4 separate regions of the Homo sapiens genome follow, and all the other regions are linked to region 1. Evidence: promoter capture Hi-C in 16 types of primary human blood cells and fetal thymus (Javierre and others, 2016). All regions are on one chromosome and are shown on one strand. The core of a region is centred on a gene start or on the middle of the fragment in contact, and the rest is flanking DNA. Distances in the headings are between cores, read along the strand shown. Region 1 holds the start of RBBP5 (RB binding protein 5, histone lysine methyltransferase complex subunit). Region 2 holds the start of EIF2D (eukaryotic translation initiation factor 2D). Region 3 holds the start of SNRPE (small nuclear ribonucleoprotein polypeptide E). Region 4 has its middle 4.5 kb from the start of ZBED6.

Evidence for each region. Contacts are between HindIII fragments. The CHiCAGO score rates a contact against its expected background, and 5 or more counts as called.
Region 2: a contact is called between the fragment with the promoter of EIF2D here and the fragment with the promoter of RBBP5 in region 1, in 3 of 17 cell types (total CD8 T cells, total CD4 T cells and neutrophils). The highest score is 8.4, in total CD8 T cells.
Region 3: a contact is called between the fragment with the promoter of SNRPE here and the fragment with the promoter of RBBP5 in region 1, in 3 of 17 cell types (neutrophils, total CD8 T cells and non-activated CD4 T cells). The highest score is 8.0, in neutrophils.
Region 4: a fragment that was not itself captured here is called in contact with the fragment with the promoter of RBBP5 in region 1 in 1 of 17 cell types (neutrophils); the score reaches 6.2 in neutrophils.

The regions. Positions count from the first base shown.
Region 1 is chr1:205,119,865-205,123,503 of GRCh38, forward strand. RBBP5 (RB binding protein 5, histone lysine methyltransferase complex subunit) reads right to left here and starts at 2,114. Exons shown (of 14, transcript NM_005057.4): 1 at 1,991-2,114. The coding sequence starts at 2,009. RefSeq lists enhancers at 174-732, 1,896-2,075, 2,216-2,435 and a silencer at 2,797-3,091. The HindIII fragment of the contact is 6,684 bases long and covers 1,648-3,639 here.
Region 2 is chr1:206,610,528-206,613,741 of GRCh38, forward strand. EIF2D (eukaryotic translation initiation factor 2D) reads right to left here and starts at 1,938. Exons shown (of 15, transcript NM_006893.3): 1 at 1,760-1,938; 2 at 657-847. The coding sequence starts at 1,815. RefSeq lists an enhancer at 1,631-1,700 and a silencer at 1,991-2,200. The HindIII fragment of the contact is 3,738 bases long and covers 839-3,214 here.
Region 3 is chr1:203,859,967-203,863,445 of GRCh38, forward strand. It overlaps SNRPE (small nuclear ribonucleoprotein polypeptide E), which reads left to right and starts at 1,633. Exons shown (of 5, transcript NM_003094.4): 1 at 1,633-1,747; 2 at 2,230-2,256. The coding sequence starts at 1,694. RefSeq lists enhancers at 1,415-1,709, 1,518-1,777, 2,163-2,738. The HindIII fragment of the contact is 9,598 bases long and covers 1-3,479 here.
Region 4 is chr1:203,789,405-203,792,760 of GRCh38, forward strand. No RefSeq gene overlaps it. Among named protein-coding and RNA genes, the nearest start is that of ZBED6, 4.5 kb to the right of the region's middle. RefSeq lists an enhancer at 707-876. The HindIII fragment of the contact is 1,363 bases long and covers 779-2,141 here.

The sequences.
Region 1 (3,639 bases), core at 864-3,363:
ATTTTCTTTTCTCCCCCTCCCACTTTTTCTCTAGATCATGTCCTCTATTCACAAGGTTTCAATGAGCCCATCTGAAAGAATACAAATCTCTCCCATAAATCCAAACCTGTCTCCTGACCCCTAGACCACATTCAGCTTCTCCAAAGCTGTCTTTTTCCAATGACCTTACACTTTATCAACAGCATCATTATTTGCTCTCACCATTTTTCACGTCACTCTCTTACTCATCAGCACTATATGCAATCTATTCTCAAATTTGTCATCCCTACCTCCTCAATGTCTTTTCTATTTCCTAGCTCAGGCCTTCCTCATCACTCATATAATCTACCCCTCCAAACTGGTTTTACACTCCTCCAAAACTCAACTCCACATTGCTGTCAGACAAACCTTACAAACTCATAGCTCTGATTGAGTTACTAAGTCAAAATCCTTCAATGGATCTACCCTACCTTCCCTAAAAAGCCCAAACTTTTGAGCTAGGCATTCGAGAACCAACACAAAATAGATGGCACCGATCCCATCCCCTGGCATTCTCTTTATCCACAACCTGGCCAAGCAGGAAAATTCTTTAGGTCTTCTCTCACTGATGCCTACTGAACATCCCTCCCATATTTTCATACTTCAGCCTGTTGATATTTTACCAACCTTAAAAATCCACTTAAGGCCGGACACTTTGGGAGGCTGAGGTGAGTGGATTGCTTGGGGCCAGGAGTTTGAGACCAGCCTGGCCAACACAGTGAAACCCCATCTCTGCTAAACATACAAAAATTAGCCAGGCATGGCAGTGCGCACCTGTAGTACCAGCTACTCAGGAGGCTGAGGCACGAGAATCACTCGAACCCAGGAGACAGAGGTTGCAGTGAGCCAAGACTGTGCCACTGCACTCCAGCCTAGGCGACGGCGCGAGGCTGTCTTAAAAAAAAAAAAAAAAGTCCACTTAAAACTCCAACTCCTCCACAGGTTTGGGGGGTTTGTTTTTCCTGGTTGACTTCTTCCTTTACCCCAAAGACATTCACTCTCTGTTCCAAACATTCTTAGCAACTGGTAATGACTCTTTCAGGCCTGCCTACATTCTGCAATATCCTACAGCTATTTTACATAATCACCTTAAACTCCCTGCTTAATGAAAAGCTCTTTAAGGGCAAAGACCATTTTTTATGTATCTTTGTAGCCCTTTTGACAATTAACATATCTTCTGACTTTTTTAAAAGAGAAACCTAACCATTAGGAACAGCAAGTAGTGCAGAAGTCCTTGAAAACCTCAGCTACCCCTAGAATACCATGCTAAATGTCACCTAATGGAAGTCCAGGAGAAAGGACCTACAGTTTTTAAATAATCTGGATAGGAGGTAAGGAGGCAATGACTCAAAGTGAGGGCGACAAAAGACAACTCCCTCCGTATTTCACACCTCAGTGTTTTACACACCGTCCCTAGCAAAGGACCTTAAACAGAAAGTTAGGATAATTGGATTCCAGTGCCAACTATGCCATTTACTTGCTTAGTGCCTAGCCATTACCCTCTGAGCCTTTATTCATCTGTTCAATGAGAAGCTTCTACCAGAAGATCTCCAAGTCCCCTCCTTAGACTTCTCTTTTCTACAAAAAGATTAACCTGTTCAGGCACCCAATTCCCTGACAAGTCTTCAAAGCTTCATCCCAAGCCTCACTTCTTCAAATTCCATCTCCAACAACTCTGGTCCTGGCTGCTCTGGGTACTTCAACACCTGCGATCCTCATAATCAAAGCTAAGTCACAAACTGTCTGTCCCCATCGCTCCATAATTGATATGAAAGTGGCCTCGGGAGGGGCAATGCAACCTACTCGGGCAGAAGGTGGGCTTCCTCCTCCCGCTGCTGCTCCACATCAGGTGTGCCCAGTGATCCATAGCCGAACAGTGTCCCTAAGATTGCAGCCTGACTCCCCTCCCGCCTGGGTTCCCTCCTTTCCAGTACCCAACGCTTCTCTAAAACGCAGCCACAGCCCTTCTCACCCAGCAACTCGAGGTTCATCCCTGCGGACTGTGGCCGCCCGGTCTCAGCTCCGGCAACAACACCTTCTCCCCGGCCGGCTTCAGCAACTTGCGTCTAAGTGGTGGACGCCGCGAAGAGACTGGCGCAAGCTCCGAAGACTTTCGGCCTTAGAAGGCCCCGCGGCTTCCGCTTTCTTCCCCCGCCTTCCTTGTTCGTTTCAGGTGGGCTGCCCAAATATATGCCTGACCAAAATCAAGCATACACTCTCTCGGAAACAATTAATTATGATCTTTGCTGAGGTACAACAATGTTATCGTCACTAGGGACTTTAAATAGCGCGACAATTTAAGATTATTTGCTCCGGGAACATGTAGGTGAGGTAGAAATTCCAGGCATACAGTTAACCTACTAGTTCTTGCCCTGTTGTGTGTTCAGCGGCGTTGTCCGGGCGGGCTACCTCAGACTCCGCAGGAAAGGTTCCGGACAAGTCCTGCTAATGCAAGAAACCAGGGAAGGTCGTCCCCTAGTGCTCGGGTGTGTAGCGCCGCTGACCTCACCAAGGCGCGTACTTACCCTGTATGTAGGTGGCGTTGCAGGGTGTTTCGGTCTCGTGAAAATTATTTCTCATTTGTAAAGATATGCTATTGATCCTACAGAAAGGTACGACAACATATGTTAGGCCTGTCTGTGTTAAGATAATAAAAACCTTATTATCTAAGGTTTTACCCTTTACCAAACAGTGTTGACAGGGACGCTGTGAAAAAGACTGTGAAAAAGAATTGGAATGAGGGGTGGACTGAGTTTCCCGGAGCTCAGTCATACAGAACTCCAATGAAATACCCAAAGCAATTAGAGAAGTCCAGTTACTGGTATCTAGCGAAAGAGCAAATTTTATATGAACAAATTCCTACTATAAATGCTGTGGCTCATCAGAAAAAGGAAACAACGTCAAAGGCTCGCTGCAGAAAATAGTACTCGGGCTAGGTCTCCGACAATGGAAAAATACACATACACAAGTTTATTAATCGCAGTATTGTCTGCAATTGCAAACTTTTGGAAACAATAATGAAACTTTTGAACTAGGGAGCCCAGCATTTTCATGTTGCCCAGGGCCCTGCAAATTATGTAGCTAGTCCAGTCTGCCTCTACTTGACAAATTTGCAGAAAAAGCAGCCTCATTCACACAGTGCACCCTGTCCCTGGGCCCCAGTTGATTGCTCTTTCAGTAAGCCCCTGACCTAAGCTCAACCCAATTAAATTCCTTTCCCAAGAATTTGGAATGGGAATTAAGTGGCCCCCACAGTCTGACACATCGATTGAAGAGAGTAAATGTGAATTAAGGAGCTATTTAAAGCGCCTAATAATAGATGGACACCATGGTAGTTGGCTGCAGGTTGCAGAATGAAGCAGAAGTCCAGAAACTAGTCAAAGATAATACTTGGTGTATCCAATTAGTTCCCAAGAACATATTACATTAATGTCTTCTATTTCCATTATCCTTGGACCTTTATAAAGTATGTCTTTTGCAGCCGGGTGCGGTGGCTCACGCCTGTAATCCCAGCACTTTGGGAGGCCGAGGCGGGCTGATCACCTGAGGTCGGGAGTTCGAGACCAGCCTGATCAATATGGAGAAACACTGTCTCTACTAAAAATACAAAATTAGTTGGGC
Region 2 (3,214 bases), core at 688-3,187, 1.5 Mb after region 1:
TATATATTTTTGGCCAGGCGCGGTGGCTCACGTCTGTAATTCCAGCACTTTGGGAGGCCGAGGCGGGCGGATCATGAGGTCAGGAGATCAAGATCATCCTGGCTAACATGGTGAAATCCCGTCTCTACTAAAAAATGCAAAAAATTAGCAAGGTGTGGTGGCGGGTGCCTGTAGTTCCTGCTACTCGGGAGGCTGAGGCAAGAGAATGGTGTGAACCCAGGAGGCGGAGCTTGCAGTGAGCTGAGATTGCGCCACTGCACTCCAGCCTGGGCAACAGAGCAAGACTCTGTCTCATGAAGACATGCCCTGAAATTCCATCCTTTTCAAGACCTCTGCTCTATTCCTAGTCAACCCACTGTAAACTTCTCAGCCACTGTTCCTTCATCTCAGAACTTCCCTTTGCAACCACCCTTACTTACTATGTCAGCCCTTTTTTTAATCCCTCCTATAGTGGTTTTGCATAAGAGAAAACCTTTTGCATCCTAGAATTGAAAGACCCAATTCTAGGAACACCAGGTCCATAAAGATCCTTGGGGATGGTATTGGGAGATTTCGTGCTTGCTTATTTTATGGGAGACAATGGAAGAAACAGAGAGAAGCAGATGTTAGGCAAGAACTACCTAATGGTAATGGCCATCTTCGTCCTGTTGTCATACCTGTTGGATACAGATTTTTCTCCAGTTCAAAGAGGATGGGGTTACCACCACTCACGTACACAGTCACTGCATCCCCTTTGTGAGCATACAACTTCACAATGTTGAGCTCCTCCTTTCCAGGTACTAACTCAGAGACTTGATCAGTTCCAAGGGTGGGGAAAGCAGTTGTCACATCAGCTCGAAGCTTTCTCCTGTGGAAAGCACACCAGCACTGTGAATGCTGCCTGGACAGACTTTTAATAAATATCAAGAACGAACTCAAAAGTGCTCACTATAAAATCACAAGGGCCAAAGAAAGATTGCCTGGTTTATGATGTCCTAGTCTCACACACACTCTTCTGAAACATCCTAAACTCTTTTTCATCCATTGTCATCTATTTTCACTCATTCCTGGGGTATGCCTTCCCATTTTATGGGTGGGAAAACAGGCCCAGTGAACAATCCAAGTTAGCCTGACACAGGAAACAGCCCTGCCTTCCTGACTTCATGCCTAGCCCTTGGGCCCACTCCTTTCTCATACATGCTTCGCAAATATGCCAGTTTATGATTAAATAACTATGCCATGAGACCTATAGACAACTATAAAGCACTGGTTACAAAATTCCAAACACAATCTCCATTTGTGACCCTGTCTGAACAGATACAGTTCTTCTTACCACATGTGCCTTATTCCCTCCCACCTCAGTTTCCAGCTGTCTCTCCTGCCAGAATTAATCACTAGTCATTTTTTTCTCTTATACTTTTAATTCTTGGTATCCCATCCGATCTCTCCCAAGGGGCATTAAGCTCTTTGGAGGGCAAGAATTCTGTATTCCTTCACTTCTGCATTCTCCACAACACCTTAAATAGTCTGCAGTCAGTAAACTCTGACTTAACTACGTTTTCTTTTAAACTCACTAGACTATCCAAAAGAGAGCCAGGTCCCCCTCCATCCTCACCTCAAAATGTGTCTAACCCACCCTTGCCTCCTGGGGTCCCTTCCCTGGCATACCCCTCGGCCTCCACCCGAGGATGTCGGCCAAGAATAGCGAGGGCTATGGGCCAGCGGGGCCCAAGAGGTGTCTGGTTGTTCCGTGGCAGAGCAGGCCCCTTTCCTCCCTCACCTGTCCGACCCCTTGATGGCCGTGTTGGACTTGACCCGAAAGGCCTTGGCAAACATGTCTGCTGGGGTGGCCTGGGGAAGAGAGCACAGAAGCCAGGGAATGTCAAGAAAGCGAGGGCGCAGCAGCTGCCAGGCCCTCAGCCGTGGGGGCAGCCATGCTGGGGCCCGGCCGCGAAAAGGGCCCGGCTGGAAACCAGGGCCGCGCAGCTTCGTGGCCGTTGCCGCTGGGGAGGCCGCGGCCGCCCCCAGTGGCGGTACCTGGAACTAAAGCAGGGCAGGGAGGGGCAGGGCCCAGGGAACGCCCCTCCCCCCCACCTTCCCATCCCCTCGCGGGCCTGGCTCTGCGCCTGCGCGAGCGGCTCGGGTTCCCCGTCCGTAGCGACTCGGCCACGCCAATAGCTGTTCTGTTTATTTCCTTCCACCCCATCAACCTTAGGAACTGCTTTGAGTAGAAGCTCTCTGCAAGCTCCCATTCCATTCGGTTCGGTTCAATTCCGCAAAAATAATTGAACTGATAAACAGTTCAGGCTTCGGCCGGGCGCGGTGGCCCAAGCCTGTTATCCCAGACTTTGGGAGGCCGAGGCGGGCGGACCGCTTAAGCCCAGAAGTTCGAGACCAGCCTGGGCAACATGGCGAAACCCCATCTCCATAAAAAATACAAAATAAAAAAAAAAAAAAAAAAAAAAAAAAAGAAAGAAAGAAAGAAAGAAAAAGAATTGGGAGGCCGAGGTGGGCGGATCACCTGAGGTCGGGAGTTCGAGACCAGCCTGATCAACATGGAGAAACCCTGTCTGTACTAAAAATACAAAATTAGCCGGGCATGGTGGAGCATGCCTGTAATCCCAGCTACTCGGGAGGCTGAGGCAGGAGAATTGCTTGAACCCGGGAGGCAGAGGTTGTGGTGAGCCGAGATTGCACAATTGCACTCCAGCCTGGGCAACAAGAGTGAAAGTCCGTCTCAAAAAAAAAAAAAAAAGAAAAGAAAAAAGAAAAATTCAGCCGGGTGTGGTGGCGCATGCCTGGGGAGGCTAAGGCGGTAGGATCGCTTGAGCCCAGGAGGCAGAGGTTGCCGTGAGCCGAGATTGTGCCACTGCACCCCACCTTGGACAACAGAGTAAGACTCCGTATCAAAAAAATCAAACAAACAAACAAAAAAACCTCGAGGGCTTTTTGAATATTTTTCTTTATTTTATTTTATTTTGTTTACTTGGAGACAGGGTCTCGCTGTGTCACCCAGGCTGGAGTGCAGTGGCGCAATCTCAGCTCAATGCAGCCTCCACCTCCCGGGCTCAAGCGATCCATCCGCTTCAGCCTCCCGAGTAGCTGGGACTACAGGCGGGCACCACCACACCAGGCTAATTTTTGTATTTTTTGTAGAGACAGGATCTCACCTTGTTGCCCAGGCTGGTCTCAAACTCCTGAGGTCAAGAGATCTGTCCGCCTCGGCCTCCCAAAG
Region 3 (3,479 bases), core at 383-2,882, 1.3 Mb before region 1:
TCTCGCTCCGTCACCAAGGCTGGAGTGCAGTGGCATGATCTCGGCTCACTGCAACCTCTGCCTCCTGGGTTCAAGTGATTCTCCTGTCTCAGTCTCCCAAGTAGCTGGGATTACAGGCATGTGCTACCATGCATGGCTAATTTTTGTATTTTTAGTAGAGACAAGGTTTCACCATGTTGCCCAGGCTGGTCTCGAACTCCTGACCTCAGTTGATCCACCTGCCTCGGCCTCCCAAAATGCTGGGATTACAGGCGTGAGCCTGGCCGCTTTGTGTAGTTTAAAAATCACTTTCAACTCAACCCCTTTCTGAAGTCGTTATTACTATTATCCCCATTAAACAGAAGCCCTCAGAAAAGCTAATTTTGATTCTGCCATTTGCCCTAATCCGTGTTCCCTTAGGCAAGTCCTTTCAAAAGTCTAAACTTCAGTTTCCTCCTCTATAACATGTGTATGCCAATTAAGTGAAATCTCTGCCAGGCCACAAGCCATGACACAATGGAAAGGTAGGTGGACTTTGGGGTCAGGCACACCTACAAATTCCAGCTGCTCCACTTAGTAGCTGTGTTATCCAGGGAAGGACATGTTCTGACACTGGCTGACGCCTAACTGTGTGCACACATAGACAATTATTTCATTGAATCTTTAAGCCCCTGAGTAAAGTTAATCTTTACTATAATCTCCGTTTTGGAAACTAAGCCAAGACATGGCGAGGCTGAGTAATTTATCCTTGGTCACCAACTCTAAAAGAGCTGGATTTGCGCCCAGCATGTGGATTTCAGCGTCTTCCTGGTAAATCGCCACCCTCAGTTGCCACCTGAACAGTAACTCTCCACGAAATGGATGAGAATTGAATCCGTAACTGGAGGGAACCAGGCGTCTGGCTTTGGAATGCAGACCGCCTCTGGCCGACTGCCAGAGGTGGGAGGCCTGAAGTTTGGGCTCCTTGCCGCCCTACCCTTTCCACCACAACGCTGCTATCAAGCCTAAACTCCAGCAAAATAGGCTTTAGGAAAGGCACGAAATTAACTCATTTTACACATAGAGATACACACTGGGACGATTTTGGCTTTTCAAGCTAACTCAGAAAATGGAGATACAGGCCGGGCGCGGTGGCTTACGCCTGTAATCCCAGCACTTTGGGAGGCCGAGGCGGGCGGATCATGAGGTCAGGAGATCGAGACCATCCTGGCCAACATGGTGAAACCCCGTCTCTACTAAAAACACAAAAAATTAGTCGGACGTGGTGGCAGGCGCCTGTAGTCCCAGCTACTCGGGAGGCTGAGGCAGGAGAATCGCTTGAACCCTGGAGGCTGAGGTTGCAGTGAGCTGAAATCGCGCCACTGCACTCCAGCCTGGGCGACAGAGCGAGACTTCGCCTCAAAAAAAAAAAAAGAAAAGAAATTGGAGACAGGACGGCACTCCTCCTACCACGGCCACTATACAACCGAAGGCACCTCCTCCCGCCTCCCTCCAGGTGGCGCTGTAGGACCGGCCCACCTTCCACAGCGCAGACGCCTCAGTTTGGCCTCCCTCGGAGGCCATGCAGCGAAGAAACGTGACTTCATGGCTAGAGGGGCATTTCCCAGGAGCCGCCCATGCCGCCGCGTGACCTTCACACTTCCGCTTCCGGTTCTTTATTCCGGAAGTTGCTCTCAGAGGCAGCGTGCGGGTGTGCTCTTTGTGAAATTCCACCATGGCGTACCGTGGCCAGGGTCAGAAAGTGCAGAAGGTTATGGTGCAGCCCATCGTATCCTACGCAGGATGTCAGGACTAGGAGGTTCGGGTCAGAATACGGGGTGCGAAGGCGCAGGCTGAGGGCAGGCCTGGGATAGTGGAGTACGGATCCACATCCCATGAGCCCCCGGGGCTACCAAGACTGGAAGAAAGCGCGGGTAGTTGAACCGTGATGGTGGGGAGGTGGTCTTGGGGGGACCCCTGCCGTGGGGAATGCAGGAATGGACGCGGCAAAAGGAGGGAAGAGAACTTCAGGTGCGGAGTGAAAACGGGAGTTAACGGTTTTGGGAAACTCCAGGGGGATGAAAGTGGAATGGATGTTCTTTAGTCTTTAGAAGACCCGTAACGAATGCCCAGCTGGGCACTTGTTGTTTGCGTAAGCACCAGACCTCGCGTTTAGTAAACAAAGGTGAGACGGGAATAGCGTCGTCCGGTTGTTTCAGGAAGCAGAGTCTATGCTGCTTTTGTATTTTTTCCTTAGCCACTGTGGTGCAGAACCTCATCTTCAGATACTTACAAAATGTACGTAAGTTGCTTGTTTCGTAACTACTTTTTAAATAAGAGGTGAACTGATTTAGTTTTTTGTGTTAACCTGAGCGATCGCTGTGTTCTAGAATTTAAAAATAGATGTAACTGGAGATTGGAGGGTAATTGAGGGGAAGGAGTACTTAGAAAGCACTAATGTGATGAAGTGGTGTGTATCCATGCCACTTCCCAACATGCAAAGAATTGTATCCATTACTTTGCAAGATCAAAAATACTTTTTAATTCCAAAAAGTATTATTAGCAGACTTGACCATGGTATTTGGGCATCAGTAGTTTTGTTAGTAGTGATTATGGCTAGAACATTGGAACCTCTCCCCTTTAGGATGAAACATTGGAAGAAAAACCCAGCCAACTTAAACCATGTCAAGAGGTGGTGTGTTTAATACCTGTGGGAAAACTTAAAGACGAAAAAAGGAAGAGAGAAGGGGTAGCTTCAGAGGAGTTTAGTGGCAGCTGCTTTCCTTTGAGGGAAATTTTAGCAACTTAAATTTTATAGTGTGATAACACAACTGAAAAACATTAATTTCAGGTGATAATAATTCTTAACCACCTGAATTGAGGGCTCCTGTCCTAGTTGTTAGGTGTGTGACATGAGAAGGCTTTGTTTTGGAACTGGATTTTGCTGCAGGAGATAAGCCCTTGGTCATTAGAAATTACTGCTTTGTGCTATGCTGTCAAAAACTTTCACTCTTAATAGATTGAGACCAGAAGCAGTAAGAAATATTGAGTCCCAAAATCACAGGAAAATTATTAGCTTATACAGTTCCAATATAGAACTTATTAAATGAAAATTCTTTTTGAGGTTATTATTATTGGTGAATAATTCTTAGATATGGGCTAATTAGTTAAAACTTTTGACTTACATTCATTACAATTTTTTTAGGAGCCATATTTCTCTTGTCGTTTGACCAAAATGGTTAGGTTTTGTATACTTCAATTTTTTGGGGGGCGGGGGGCGGGGAGATCTTGCTTAATGTTGCGCAGGCTTATATTGAACACCTGGCCACAAAGCGAATTATTCCGCTTTGGCATCCCAAAGTATGGGAACGGTGTGAATCGAGGCACCTGGCCTGTTTTTCTTTTCTTTTTTTTGAGACGGAGTCTCACTGTGCCCAGGCTGGAGTGCAGTGGCGCGATCTCAGCTCACTGCAACCTCTGCCTCCCGGGTTCAAGCGATTCTCCTGCTTCAGCGTCCCGAG
Region 4 (3,356 bases), core at 210-2,709, 1.3 Mb before region 1:
GCATTGGAAGCATTGGAAGGGGAAGGCAGGCCTAGAAGTGTTGATTTTTGATGATACCAGTTCAGATCCCACAGTCAGAGAAAGAAGTTTAAATTGTGTCATCCGCAGTTAGTAAGTTATTTGTGACTCCTGTCTAAGGCTTCTCGGTAGAATGCTCTGTTAGTCACTATCTTCTCACACATGTCAGACAGCTGAGACCCAAAGGCAGGGATAAAAAGAGGCAAGATGAGACTGGGCGCGGTGGCTCACACCTGTAATCCCAGCACTTTGGGAGGCCAAGGTGGGCGGATCACCTGAGGTCAGGAGTTCAAGACCAGCCTGGCCAACATGGTGAAACCCCGTCTCTACTGAAAATACAAAAAAAATTAGTTGGGCATGGTGGCAGGCGCCTATAATCTCAACTACTCGGGAGGCTGAGGCAGGAGAATCGCTTGTACCTGCGAGGCAAAGTTCGCAGTGAGCTGAGAGCGCGCCATCGCACTCCAGCCTGGGCAGAAGAGTGAAACTCTGTCTCAAAAACAACAACAATAACAACAACAAAAAGGCAAGATGATGGACAGTGGTGATGAACACTGTGGGGGAAGGGACTAGCTACTCACATGGTGGTTTCTCTCCCACTCCAATCTCTCATGTCGGGTAGTACAGACACAGGGCTACCCTCAGTTTGTAAAGCCCGCAGGGTGGACTAGAGCCTCAGGGTGAAGGCTGGGTCAGCATTTGAATCCAGATTATATGAGAGTCAACACATCCTACTACCGATCTGCTATGCAAATAATGAAGCTTAACCTTCAGGTACCCTTTCTTTCACAAGCTCCCTTCAAGGCTCTGGACAGGGCCTTAGCAATGCAGTCATTCTAAAACTTGCAAAAGTAAGATTTTAATGACAATGGTTAAAAGCCCTGTTTCTTTTCACTCAGCTGTCCTTTCTAGTACCTTCCCCTTATTGGGCATTTTGGGATCTGGCTAAAAGGGGGTTGGGATGCAATTATTTTGGGTTATATTTATGTGATTTACAGTCACTTTCATGGGGCTAGAAATAGTTTTCAAGAATACCCCTGTTGCCCACTGTAGTGACTCATCTAGCATTATGACCCAATGTTGTAGGGCCAGAGGTCACATTTTGTTTTAAACCTGCCCTACAGCATCTGGCACTGGAAGAATGTAAATCATTGAGGGGTGACAAGGTTTGAAACATATGGCATCAGAGGCTAGTCTGTGGAAAATTCTTCACACGTCTAAAATTTTTTTTTTTTTTGAGATGGAGTCTCGCTCTGTCGCCCAGGCTGCAGTGCAGTGGCGCAACTTGGGCTTACCGCAACCTCTGCCTCCTGGGTTCAAGCAACCTCTGCCTCCTGGGTTCGAGTGATTCTCCTGCCTCAGCCTCCCAAGTAGCTGGGACTACAGATGCATGCCACCACACCTGGCTGATTTTTGTATTTTTAGTAGAGAGGGGGTTTCACCATGTTGGCCAGGCTGGTCTTGAACTCCTGATCTCAGGTGATCCACCTGCTTTGGCCTCCCAAAGTGCTGGGAATACAGGTGTGAGCCACTGCACCTGGCCACACATCTAAAATTTTATTTTTTTTTTATTTTTTTTTTTCAGATGGAGTCTTGCTCTGTTGCTCAGGCTGGAGTGCAGTGGCATGATCTTGGCTCACTGCAACCTCTGCCTCCCGGGTTCCAGCGATTCTCCTGCCTCAGCCTCCTAGGTAGCTGGGATTACAGGCGCATGCCACTACGCCCGGCTAATTTTTGTATTTTTAGTAGAGACGGGGTTTCACCATGTTTGGCAGGCTGGCCTTGAACTCCTGATCAGGTGATCTGCCCGCCTCGGCCTCCCAAAGTGCTGGGATTACAGGCATGAGTCGCTGTGCCTGGCCATATCTAAAATTTTAAATGGACGAGTCAGTTATCACTAACAGCTGGCATGGTAGCAAGCCTCCAAGAAAGACCCCAATGATCCCTGGCTCCTGTTACCATGCCCTTGCTTAGTCCCCTCCCACATAATGCCAGTGTTAATCTGTGTGATCAATAGAATACAGAAGAAATGGTGGTATGTAATGCCCAAGGCTAGGTCATAAAAGGCATTGCAGCTTATAGTGTCTATCTTTACTATTTCTCTCGTCATTCACTCTGGGAGAAGCTTGTTGCCTATATCCTGAGCAGCCCTACGGAGAGGCCCTCAGAGTGAGAAACTGAGGTCTCATCTCCTGTTAACAGCTATATGAGTTGACTTGGAAATGTATCTTCTAGCCCCAGTCAAGCCTTCAGATGACTGCAGTCCTGGCCAACTTGATTGCAAACTCATTAGAGACTCTGAGTCAGAACCATCCAGCCAAACTGCTTCTGAATTCCTGACCCACAGACACGTGAAATAACAAATGTTTGTTCCTTAAGCCACTACATTTTTGGGTGATTTTTTACATAGCAATAAATAATAGATTTAGTAAAAATGGTAGCTCTTGCCTGGCCAAGAGGGTATTAAATAATTCAATAAAGTCTTAGTGCTTATATATATCTAAGAAACTTGATAGAAGCTGTACCAAATTTGACAATAATCATACATATATATTTTTTTTTCTTTCTTTTTTTTTTTTTTGACTGAGTCTCACTCTGTCGCCCAGGCTGAAGTGCAGTGGTACACAATCTCAGCTCACTGTAATCTCCACCTCCCGGGTTCAAGGGATTCTGCTGCCTCAGCCTCCCAAATAGCTGGGATTACAGGTGCACGCCACAACATCCAGCTAATTTTTGTATTTTTAGTAGACATGGGGTTTTACCATGTTGCCCAGGCTGGTCTTGAATTCCTGGGCTCAAGTGATCCACTGGCCTGGGCCTCCCATAGTGCTGGGATTACTGGCATGAGGCACTGTGCCCAGCCACAGTTTTTTTTTTTTTTTTAATGTGTAATTTGTTGTGATTTCCTTTTCTAGTCTAAATAAAGATTCTCTTGAACCTAATTTTGTCTCAATAATTTTGCATTTTTTCCCCAAACTTTTGCTCTCAAAGCAAAAACACACTGAACGTCCCAAAAGGTTTTGTCATTCACTGAAGAGGTCTAGATATGTTTAAAATCCATTTAGAATTTGAAGGGCAGTATGAATAGGGGGAATCTGGCATTGTGTCCTTGGTTTAGATACTTCACCCCCACTTATAACATACAAAGGGCAAGCCCAGCCCCACCCCTGAGAATTCTGTGTGTATATATGGGGGGGTGGGGAAGGTTGGCATGTGCACTCTCCTGACTCTTAGAGGGTTTCCCAACTAGTTTTCTCTCTCTGCAACAGCCTTAGGCTTTTTCTCCTGCCTTTTTTTTTTTTTTTTTCTGTGAGACAGGTTCTCTCTCTGTTGCCCAG